Linked DNA regions of Homo sapiens: region 2 is linked to region 1. Evidence: promoter capture Hi-C in 16 types of primary human blood cells and fetal thymus (Javierre and others, 2016). All regions are on one chromosome and are shown on one strand. Each heading gives the region's core, a stretch centred on a gene start or on the middle of the fragment in contact. The rest is flanking DNA. Distances are from core to core; before and after follow the strand shown.

Region 1 (5,694 bases), core at 1,386-3,885:
TAGGCCAGGCGGTGGCTCACGCCTATAATCCCAGCACTTTGAGAGGCCAAGGAGGTGGGTGGGTCACCTGAGGTCAAGAGTTGGAGACCAGCCTTACCAACATAGTGAAACCCCATGTCTACTAAAAATTCAAAATTAGCCAGGCATGGTAGCTCATGCCCGTAATCCCAGCTACTTGGGAGGCTGAGGCAGGAGAACTGCTTGAAGTCGGGAGGCAGAGGTTGCAGTGAGCCAAGATCGCGCCATTACACTCCAACTTGGGTGACAAGAGTGAAACTCCGTCTCAAAAAAAAAAAAAAGTAATGATAATCGTACCCGTTTCTTAGCGGTGTTTGAAGAGGTAAGTTATTAATGCAGGGATCATGGTATCTGGTACACTGCAAGCCCTTGATACATGTTCCTTGCTATTATTCTTCATCTTTTCCTCACACATCTCAGCAAATCGATTTGCCTCTTCTGGAGTCAGACAGAAATGAGTTCAAGTTCCGCTTTATTCTTGCTGTATCTTTAACCGAGTATCTTTAACTTGGCCTTTCTGTGCCTCAGTTTCCCTCCCTGTTAAACGGTGGTTACAGCTGTTTTCTTCAGTGGAAGACACTTAGAGATGGGGAGGCCCTTAGCACTCCTGTTAGCCCTCTGGCCAGGCCGAGGATCAGCTCTGGCCATAACGCGATTGAATGGGAAGGAAGGGAGCAGGTAATAGGGAAGCCGGGAAGGGGTGTCCTGCGAGCCTCCCCCCAACACCCCCCCCCCCCCGCAAAGGCTGGTGGGGCGCTGGGCTGCGGTGGCATCAGAGGCTTTAACCCTTCCCAGGCCGCGCCTCTCTCCCTGCGGTCCAGACACTGCGCCCAAGGAGGGGGCCTGGGAAGGACAAGGCCTGGGGGTAAGACCCACGCGTGGCGCGGAAGCTAGACCGGGTGGGGGGGTTGTGGGCTCGTCCTGCCCTCGACCCTTTGCCTCCCTCCAGCCGGGGAGACCCGGGGCTCCAGCCATGCCCCGTGCGCGCGGAGGAGGGATGCTCGCCAGGTGGGGACATACTTGGGGGAGGGGCTGTCGGCCCCCCTAGCAGCTCACCTGGGCCCGCGGCCGCCAGCGTCGCTGTCTCCGCTGCTCGCCGCGACCGACCGCCCTCCCTGTCGGCGTCCGCTGCCCGGCCCGGCCCGGCCCGGCCCAGCCCGGCTCAGCTCGGCCCCGCCGGCCCGCGGCTCAGCCAGATCCGCATGCGCCGCCGCGCCTCCCTCTCTCGCGCCGCCGCCGCGCTCAGCGCGCCCCCGGGACCCCCTCCCGCCCGCGGTCCCCGCGCCCCGCCGCCCGAGGCCCACGCGCAGTCACACCCGGCCGCGGCGTGGGGTGCACGGCTGCACTCGCGAGGGCACGGCGGCGTCACGCGCTGCACACTCCCACGGGGTCACGCTCGCCACGCTGCCATACTCGCGGGGGCCTCGGCGCACAAACTCACCCCCGCATCCACGCGCTTGCGCGCCGTCACTCCCTCCTGTGGGGTCTCACGGGGTCACACCCTCACGCCGTCACACGCGGCGTCCACACTGGAACGGTGTCACCCACCACCACACAAATCCAATAGGGTAACCACCGCCCACGCGGCGTCACACACAAATGCACCTGTCACACACAGCCGCACACTCCCCGGCAGTCACAAACAGTGTCATAGGCCCACACATCACGCACAGCTTCACAGCCACAGTGTCACACACTCTACACACTCGAACCTTCATAGCAGTCGCCCCGCACATGCTGCACCGCCGCACCTCACACATCATAGTCACAGGGGGTCACAATGAGCAGCTCAACACAGACACCCACAGCCACACACTCGAATGGGGTCCCGGTGTCACACATCCTTACACGAGACATGTGGTGTCACACACTGTCACAGTCTAATTAGTCTCACGCTTCCATGTAGCACACCTCACACGTCCCACACCCTATCGTACAGGCTGACGCAGTGTCACCCACGGTGTCACCACAAGGTCACAAAAGAACAGAATCAATGCCTGCCACACGTGGTGTCACGCACGTGTAGTCACACTGTAACACGGGATCACACTCAGAGGATGACACAAGGTGTCACCCACAGTCCTGCTTGCCCTCCGGGTCACTGAGTCACACAGGGTCATATAAGTGCATAGGTACGCCGTGACACAGTGTCTTACATCCAAGTGCACACACACACTCTGTCCTCCTAACTTTCTCCCCTTGCTGGTTCTGGGAGGCCCTGGGGCTTAGAGTGCGCCCCAGATCCGCTCCAGGCTCCGGGAGAGGGGGCGTGAGCTACGAGAGGCCGTGGGTGAGGCTCGCCTGGCCCCGCCCCTCTCCGGGAGGTGGAGCGCGGAGGCAGGGCGCTGAGTGACAAGTTATCTCGGCTCCGTCCACTCTATTTGTTGCTATGTGGAGGCGTGGCCTTCTGTGGCCCCGCCTTCCAGTCTAAGTGGCGCGCAGAGAGGGCGGTGCTGGACGGTGAGCGAATGCAAGCTGACGCCTGCCCCGCCCATCCGCGTTAGGCCCCGCCCCTTGACCTGAGCCGCGGGCGGAGAGTCTGAGGCGTGGCCCTTCGAGCCAGCTCCGCCCCGTTGTTCCTGGCTTGAGTAGGGCAGAGAGCACCGCCCAGCAGCCAGTGGGTTCCCGCGCGTGCCGAGACTCTGAGGCCTTGCACCCCCACGATCCCGTACGATGGCCGTCAAGAAGATCGCGATCTTCGGCGCCACTGGCCAGACCGGGCTCACCACCCTGGCGCAGGCGGTGCAAGCAGGCATGAGCCGGGGCGGGCGGGGCATGTCACGGGACAGACGGGCAGAACTTTAGGAAGGGGCACCATGGGGTCGGGCCGAGGCTGATTGGGGCCATGAGCGCCCCAGCCAGGTGTATGAGGACTCAGGGGCCAAAGCAAGTGGCCACGGGGGCAGAAATGGGGAAAGATGTGAGATCCAAGTTTATGTGAGTCCAAGCCAGAGAGGAATTGGCCCCGGGAGCCCCGGGAGGACTCCACTGGCACAGTCGTGTGTAAGTCCAGGGCTCTTATGCAATGCGGTTGTCATTATTGTGGTTGTGGTGGTGGTTGTTCGCACTCCCAGAGAGGATTTACTAAGCCAAGCTTGCTCTGTCGTCTCTTCACATGAGAGCTTTCAAAATGGGGTGGGAACTAGTATCACCCTACTTGACAGATGAGAAAACTGAGACCCAGAGAGTGACTTGCCCAATATCACACAGCTGTTAACTGACAGGACTGGGATTTGAACTCAGCTCATGCTCTTAACCACCACAAGTCCCCAGGCTGGAAACTGAAAAAGTTGGGGGGTCAGGTTGCTGCGAGTACCTAATGGGAAGGAGTCACAGAGAGACATGAGTGAAGACTTGGGGACAGCAGTCCTGGGAAAGTCAATGAGGGCTGAAAATTTGGAGTTGCCCCAGGAGAGAGGGCAGAAAAGGGGATAACCATCCCCCAGCACTCCCTGCCCCCACAGCCCAGACTTGACCAACTCCCAGCTGGGCCTGGGACTTCCAGATATGGGGCCCCACCCTTGCAGGCCTTGGGGACGCTGAAGATATTGACTATCTGCGTGCCCCAAAAGGGTGGAGGCCAACAGGACCCCACTCTGCTGTCTCCCTTGGAGGGACTCTGAAAGTTCTTCTCTAGGTCCATAACTCTCCCCTTCCCCAGGGAGACCACGTGAGGATCTTGACTTGTGGAGAATGGGGAGCTGTGGGCCTCTCAGTAAAAACCAGTTTGCTGATAAGCATTTATTCGGGAGTAATGGAGAAGGAAGTAAGAGAGAGAAGTTGAGAGGCGCTGAGTCACCTGGAAATCCACTAATTCCACCGAATTCCACTCGCCCACCCTGCTGGTCATAGCTGGGACTGCACTCAGAGGGTTAAGAACTGGAGCCTAGGGAGCTTCAGAGCTGTGGCTCTGAAAAATCTCTTCCCAGCTCTCAGCTTTGCTGTCCCCCTCAGCAAAGGGAAGGGCTGGCCAGGCACGGTGGATCATGCCTATAATCCCAGCACTTTGGGAGGCCAAGGCGGGAGGATGGCTTGAGGCCAGGAGTTTGAGACTAGCCTGGGCAACGTAGCAAGACCCCATCTCTACAAAAATACAAAAAAAAAATAAATTAGCTGGGCGTGGTGATGCATGCCTGTAGTCCCAGCTACTCAGAAGGCTCAGGTGGGAGGATTGCTTGAGCTCAGGAGTTCAAGGCTACAGTGAGCTGTGTTTGCACCACTGCACTCCAGCCTGGGTGACAGGGTGAGACCCTGTCTCTCAAATTTAAAAAAATACATAAAAAGAAAGAAAAAGAGGCTGGGTGCGGTGGCTCACGCCTGTAATCTCAGCACTTTGGGAGGCTGAGGCAGGTGGATCACGAGGTCAGGAGTTCGAGACCAGCCTGGCCAATATAGTGAAACCCCGTCTCTACTAAAAATACGAAAAATTAGCCGGGCATGGTGGCTGGTGCCTGTAATCGCAGTTACTTGGCAGACTGAGGCAGGAGAATAGCTTGAATCCGGGAGGCAGAGGTTGTGGTGAGCCGAGATTACGCCACTGCATTCCAGCCTGGGCGACAAGAGTGAAACTCTGTCTCAAAAAAAAAAAAATTAGCTGGGCACAGTGGTACGTGCCTGTAATTCCAGGTACTTGGGAGGCTGAGGCACAAGAATCGCTTGAACCTGGGAGGTTGCAGTGAGCTAAGATTGCATCACTGCACCACTGCACTCCAGCCTGGGTGACACAGCAAGATGAAAGGAAAGAAGGAAGGAAGAAAAGGAGGGAGGGATGGAGGGAGGGAGGGAGGGAAGGAAAGAAGGGAGGGAAGGAGGGAGGGAGGGAGGGAGGGAGGGAGAAGGGGCTTGGATTAACTGGAGTTCACAATGGTTCTGTAGGGCCAAGAGTCTTAACAGGCATGAACTCTGGTGCCAGCCTGCCCACATTCAAGTCACCAGCTCTGCGGCTTACAGCCTTTGTGACCAAATGCCTTGTCATCTGTGTACCTAGATATGTGTAAGATCATGACAAAACTGGTAGTACTTGCCCTAGGGCTCTTGGGATAATTAAATGAGATCTTATATAGGAGGTACTTAGACTAGCATTGAATTTTGCAGTCTCTGGATCAGACTTACTTAGGTAAAAATTCAACCTTCTCTACCTACTAGCTGTGTGATCCTGGCCCGGTTGCCTAAAATTGCCTCAGTTTCCCCATCAATGTGGACAGGATAATGATACCTACCTTGCAGGGTTGTTGCAACCTGATGCTTCTCAAACTGTGAGTTACAATGAGATCTGAAACATATGGTCACAACGTGTATCAACAATATAGGGTAACAAATGATGACATAGTATCAAAATGTATCACATGTTAAGTATTAGTTTTGTGAAACTCATTTTAATTATATATGTATGCGTTTGTGTACACCAGGTTAGGCAATGAAATTTTTTGTATTGATGGCTGATTTTTTTTTTTTTTTTTTTTTTTTTTTGAGACAAGAGTCTCACTCTGCCGCCCAGGCTGGAGTGCAGTGGCACAATCTTAGCTCACTGCAAGCTCCGCCTCCCGAGTTCAGCCATTCTCCTGCTTCAGCCTCCCAAGTAGCTGGGACTACAGGCGCCTGCCACCATGCCCAGCTAATTTTTTTTGTATTTTTAGTAAAGATGGGGTTTCACCATGTTAACCAGGATGGTCTCCA
Region 2 (5,694 bases), core at 2,280-4,779, 330 kb after region 1:
GGATTACAGGCGTGAGCCACCGTGCCTGGCCAGCCTGACTTTTATAGCAATCATCTCTGTGTTTCTTTATAGTAATTAGTTATCCAAATGTGTGTCCATAGTTTAGTTTTGCCCTTTACAACTTCTAAAATGTTATTATTATGCCTCTTTTTTCTTATTCAGAGAATGTTGAATTCTCAAAGAAAAAAAGAGAATTTTGAATTGTAGTGACATCAGCATACGTTTTGAAGTATGTGAATATATATGCATATCTGAATATATATGTGCATATATAAAATTTTAAAATATCAATACTATCACTAGTAATATGATGACTAAATATAGTTTAAGATTTTCTTATGGTGCTTTTTTTTCCAGGAGGATATACCCCATTAGGGATTTATGTCAAATTAATATATCTTAAATTACTTTAAGACATTGTTTTAGCCTGGGCAACATAATGAGACCCCATCTCTATAAAAAGTAAAAAATTAGCTGGGCGTGGTCACACACGTCTGCAGTCCCAGCTACTCTGGAGGTTGAGGTGGGAGGATCGCTTGAGCCCAGGAAGTGGAGGCTGCAGTGAGCTGTGATCATACCACTGCACTCCATCCTGGGTGACAGAACAAGACCCTGTCTCAAGAAAACAAAAAACCAAAACCATTGTTTTGTGGGTGATTGAGTCCCAATCGCAAAAATTGTTTTGACATTCCATTTACTTGGAAAATATAAACCAATGAACATATGTATTCATTTTCCTCTCTATTGAGCAAAAGGTACATCCTGTTCATACCAATTTGCACCTTGGTTTTTTCACTTAACTACATCTTGGAGGTGACTATATATGTGTGTACACATGGGCCGGGTGTGGTGGCTCACGCCTGTAATCCCAGGACCTTTGGGAGGCTGAGGTGGGCGGATCACTTGAGGTCAGGAGTTCAAGACCAGCCTGGTAAAAATGACAAAACCCCATCTTTACTAAAAATACAAAAATTAGCAGGGCGTCATGGTACGTGCCTGTAGTCCCAGCTACTAGGGAGGTTGAGGCAGGAGAATGGCTTGTATCCTGGGAGGTGCAAGTTACAGTGAGCTGAGATCGTGCCATTGCACTCCAGCCTGGGCGGCAGAGCAAGACTGTCTCAAAACAAAACAAAACAAACAAATAGTCAAAAAAACAAAACAAAAAAACACGTGTGTACACACTTGTACATACACACACATCACATATATATGTAATCTTAATATATCTTATTTTCACAGCTGTACAGTGCTCTGTATTTGTGGATATAGCATAGTTGAATTAAGCAGCACCCTCTTCATGGCTATTGCAATAGTTTCCAGTTTTTTGCTATCATGCGTAGGGCTCCAGTGAAGAGGCACGTTCATATGAAGTTTCCTATTTCTGTCTGTGTCTTTGGACCTAATTCCTAGAAGTAGGATTGCTGAGTCAAAGGGCAAATTCACTAGATATTGCCAAATTCTCCTCCATGGAGGTTTTATCTTTTTATATTCCATCAGTAAAATGGAAGAGTCCCTGTTTCCCCACAGCGTTGCCAACAAGAGGGCTGTCCAACATTTGGATTTTTGCTAATCTGTTAGGTGAGAAATAGGATCTCAGGGCAGTTTTAATTGTGTTTCTTTTATTATGAGTGAGGCTGAGCTTTAGTTTATTTTTTATTTTTTGAGACAGGCTCTTGCTTTGCCAGTCAGGCTGGAGTGGAGTGGCACAATCTCGGCTGGCTCATTGCCACCTTCGTCTCCCAGGCTCAAGCGATTCTCCTGCCTCAGCCTCCTGAGTAGCTGGGATTACAGGTGCATGCCACCATGCCTGGCTGCACCATGTTGCCTGGCTGCAACATGGCATGCACCATGCCATGTTGGCCAGGCTGGTCTTGAACTCCTGACCTCAGGTGATCTGCTTGCCTCAGCCTCTCAAAATTCTGGGATTACAGGTGTGATATTTTATTTTTTATTTTTTGAGACAGGGTCTTACTCGGTCACACAGGCTGGAGTGCAGTGGTGCAATCATAGCTCACTGCAGCCTTGAACTCCTGGGCTCCAGCAGTCCTCCCATCCTCCCACCTCAGCATCCCGAGTAGCTGGGATCACAGGTGTGTGCCACCACACTCAGCTAATTTATTTTATTTTATTTAGAGACAAGGTCTTGTCATCTTGCTCAGGCTGGTCTTAAACTCCTGGGATCAATCAATCCCCTCACCTTCCCTTCGAAAGTACTGGGATTACAGGGATGAGCCACTGTGTCTGGCTATTTTTATAAATTTAGGTGGCATTTGCATTTTTTAACGTGAACTCTCTGTTTATGTATCTTGCCCGCTTTCAATAGGTTTCTTGTTTTTTTTCCCTTAATTTTTAGACACTTTATATTTTAGGGATTTTAACTCTTTCTCTTCTGTGATATAAGTGGTAAATATTTTTCTTATTTTGTCATCTGTAGTTTTTGGTTGTGTATGGCTTATTTTGTGGCCACGCAAAAGGTTTTTGTTTTTTTTTTGTTTGGTCATTTAACAAAATTCTCTTTTATGGCTTCTGGATCTTGAGTAATAGTTTGGAAAATTTACACCCTCCCCGGTAATGAGGGAACTCACCAGTGTTTTATTATCTGTGAGGCTGTGTTTTTTCATTTAGATCTTTGATATGTTTAGGATTTAATCTGGTATATGGGGTGGGAAATGCATTCAAGCTTCTTTGTTTTCACGTGGTCATCTAGTTGTTTCTACACTACTAAATTAAAACCTTTTCTAAAGTCCCTTCCTGAATTAGAAATTACTATATCATCATATAAATCTCCATCAGCAATTGCTTCTGTCTTTGGATTTTCTAACCTTCTTTTGATCTGTCTGCTTATTTATGCATCAGTAACACATTTTAAAATATTGTTTTTATTTACTTTTTTTTTTTTAGCCCCAACCATGGCAAGGGCACATATTGTTTTATTTTTATTGTATTATTTTTATTATTTTTAATTTTTCTGATACGGAGTTTTGTTCTTGTCACCCAGGCTGGAGTGCAATGGTGCAAACTCAGCTCACTGCAACCTCTGCCTCCCGGGTTCAAGGGATTCTCCTGCCTCAGCCTCTCGAGTAGCAGGGATTACAGGTGCCCACCACCATGCCCAGTTAATTTTTGTATTTTTAGTAGAGATGGGGTTTCATCATGTTGTCCAGGATGGTCTCAAACTCCTGACCTCAGGTGATCCACCCGCCTCAGCCTCCCAAAGTGCTGGGATTATAGGCATGAGCTACCACGCCTGGCCACTTATATCGTTTTAAGTATTTGGTAGAGCTACTGCCTAAGTTGGTGGCAGCCACGGCTGCTACTGCTTCTTTCTAGCTCTGGGGCAAAAAAAGAAAACACACACACACACACACACACAAACACACACACAAAACCCTTGATGATATCTGTATTGGGATTGCAATAAATTTGTAAACAAACTCAGAGGCAATTGAGTTCATGATGCTGGCAGCCTGCTTCTATCCTTGGAATTCTGGTGCCATCTAGTCGTCATTATGTGCAACAACAACTTTCTGAATTTCAAAAAGAAAATCTGGGAGGTAAAAGCAGTAAACATTTATTGTCTCACACACTTTTTGTGGGTCAAGTATTTGAGAGCAGCTTATCCACATGGTTCTGGTTCGAAGGCACTGGCCTGGGGTTCAGTCATCAGAAGGGTTTAAAGGAACTGGAGAATGCCCTTCCAAGGGGGCTCACTCACACTCCTCTGGGTCCACTTGCTCTAGGGGAAGCTAGGCCACATGATGGGGACTGTGGGGAGGGCCAGATGGTGAGCAAGTTAACGCAGAGAGTGAGGTGGAAGCTGTAATGCTAGATAATTTTAGACTTGCAGAAAAGTGCAGATAGTACAGAGAGGTCCCACATATCTCTCATCCTGCTCCCCCTATTGTTATTAGCATAGCACAATGATCAAAACTAGGAAATTAACATTGGTATCACAGTATCAACTAAACTACCAATCTTATTTGAATGTTAACACTTTTTCTATTGATGTCCTTTTTTTTTCCTTTTTTCTGTTCCAGACTCCCATATTGTGTTCAGTTGTTGTGTCTCTTCTAGACAGGAACATTTCCTCTGTATTTGCTTGTGTTTCATGACTTTGACACTTTGCTTTTTTAAGAGGTAGGGTCTCTTTCTGTCGCCCAGGCTGGAGTGCAGTGGTGCGATCATAGCTCACTGCAACCTTCAACTCCTGGACTCAGAGGATCCTCCTGCCTCAGCCTCTTGAGTAGCTAGGACTACAGCCACATGCCATGGTGCCCGGCTAATTTTTTTTGTCAGGATGGGGTCTCACTGTGTTGCACATGCTGATCTTGAATTATTGGCCTCAAGCAATCCTCCTGCCTCAACCTCTCAAAGCTTTGGGATTATAGGTGTGAGCCACCATGCCCAACTGACTTTGACACTTTTGAATGGTACTGATCAGTTAGTTTATAGGATATTCCTCAATTTGGGCTTGTCTGACATTTTCTCATGACTGGACTAAAGTTATGAGTTTTTGCCAAGAACGCCACAGAAATGATGTTGTGTCCTTCTCAGTGCATGATATCAGGAGGCACCTGATGTCAGTGTATCTTATTGCTGGTGATGCTGACCTTGATCACTTAAATTGCTGTATGCTGCACATCTCCACTGTAAAGTTACTATTTTCCCCTTGGTAATTAAAAACTATCTTGAAGGAGATTTTTTGAGACTATACAAGTCTTTTTCCTTCTCAAACTTTTGCCCACAAATTTTAGCATCCATTGGTGGATCTTGTCTGCAACAGTTATTGCTGTGACATTTGACTAATGGTAATTTTTCATATTCCTTTCTCCTTTTACATTTATAAATTGTAAATCTACTGAAAGATAGAACCATCCCTTCTCCTCATGTATTTATTTTTTTATTTCGATCCATGCAGAAGTGTGATTTATTTATTTATTTATTATTTTTCAGGTGGAGTCTTACTCTGTCACCCAGGCTGGAGTGTAGTGTTGTGATCTCTGCTCACTGCAACCTCTGCCTCCTGGGTTCAAGTGATTCTCATGCCTCAGCCTCCTGAGTAGCTGGGATTACAGGTGTGTGCCACCACACCTGGCTAATTTTTTTTTTTTTTTTTTTTTTTTAGTACAGACAGGGTTTCACCATGTTGGCCAGGCAGGTCTCAAACTCCTGATCTCAAGTGATCCACCCGCTTTGGCCTCCCAAAGTGCTGGGATTACAGGTGTGAGTCACTGCACCCGGCCGAGAAGTGTGGATATTTATTTTATTCTATGGATTAAAACCTGATATTGAGAGACTTACATTTCGACAGTCTGCTGGGTATGAAATGGTATGCCGTTGTGGGTTTTCCCCTTCTCTTTGTGGAGAACAGAGTCTTGCTATGTTGCCCAGGTGGGTCTTGAACTCCTGGGCTCAAGCGATCCTCCCACCTCGGCCTCCCTAAGTGTTGGGATTACTGGTGTGAGCCACCGTACCTGGCCTCATTGTGTGTTAATTAGAATATTCTGAATACTGATGAGTTTGGGCATCTTTGGCCTTTCCTACTGTGGCCTCTATGAAGTGCTTTTAAAAAATCCTGCTCTTGCCTCTCCAGGTCAGGATGTTAGGCTCACTGGACAGAGAAGAGTCTATTTTTTTGGGAAGTTGGCATGAAATACTTTAAGAACCTGTTAATAAGGTAAATGCAACTTCTAG

The links. Contacts are between HindIII fragments. The CHiCAGO score rates a contact against its expected background, and 5 or more counts as called.
Region 2: a contact is called between a fragment that was not itself captured here and the fragment with the promoter of BLVRB in region 1, in 2 of 17 cell types (total B cells and naive B cells). The highest score is 6.1, in total B cells.

What each region holds. Positions count from the first base shown.
Region 1 is chr19:40,462,686-40,468,379 of GRCh38, reverse strand. BLVRB (biliverdin reductase B) reads left to right here and starts at 2,635. Exons shown (of 5, transcript NM_000713.3): 1 at 2,635-2,770. The coding sequence starts at 2,692. It overlaps SPTBN4 (spectrin beta, non-erythrocytic 4), which reads right to left and starts at 1,379. Exons shown (of 36, transcript NM_020971.3): 1 at 1,075-1,379. RefSeq lists a silencer at 2,221-2,420 and an enhancer at 3,442-3,561. The HindIII fragment of the contact is 19,600 bases long and covers 1-3,114 here.
Region 2 is chr19:40,137,791-40,143,484 of GRCh38, reverse strand. No RefSeq gene overlaps it. Among named protein-coding and RNA genes, the nearest start is that of ZNF780A, 50 kb to the right of the region's middle. The HindIII fragment of the contact is 1,694 bases long and covers 2,683-4,376 here.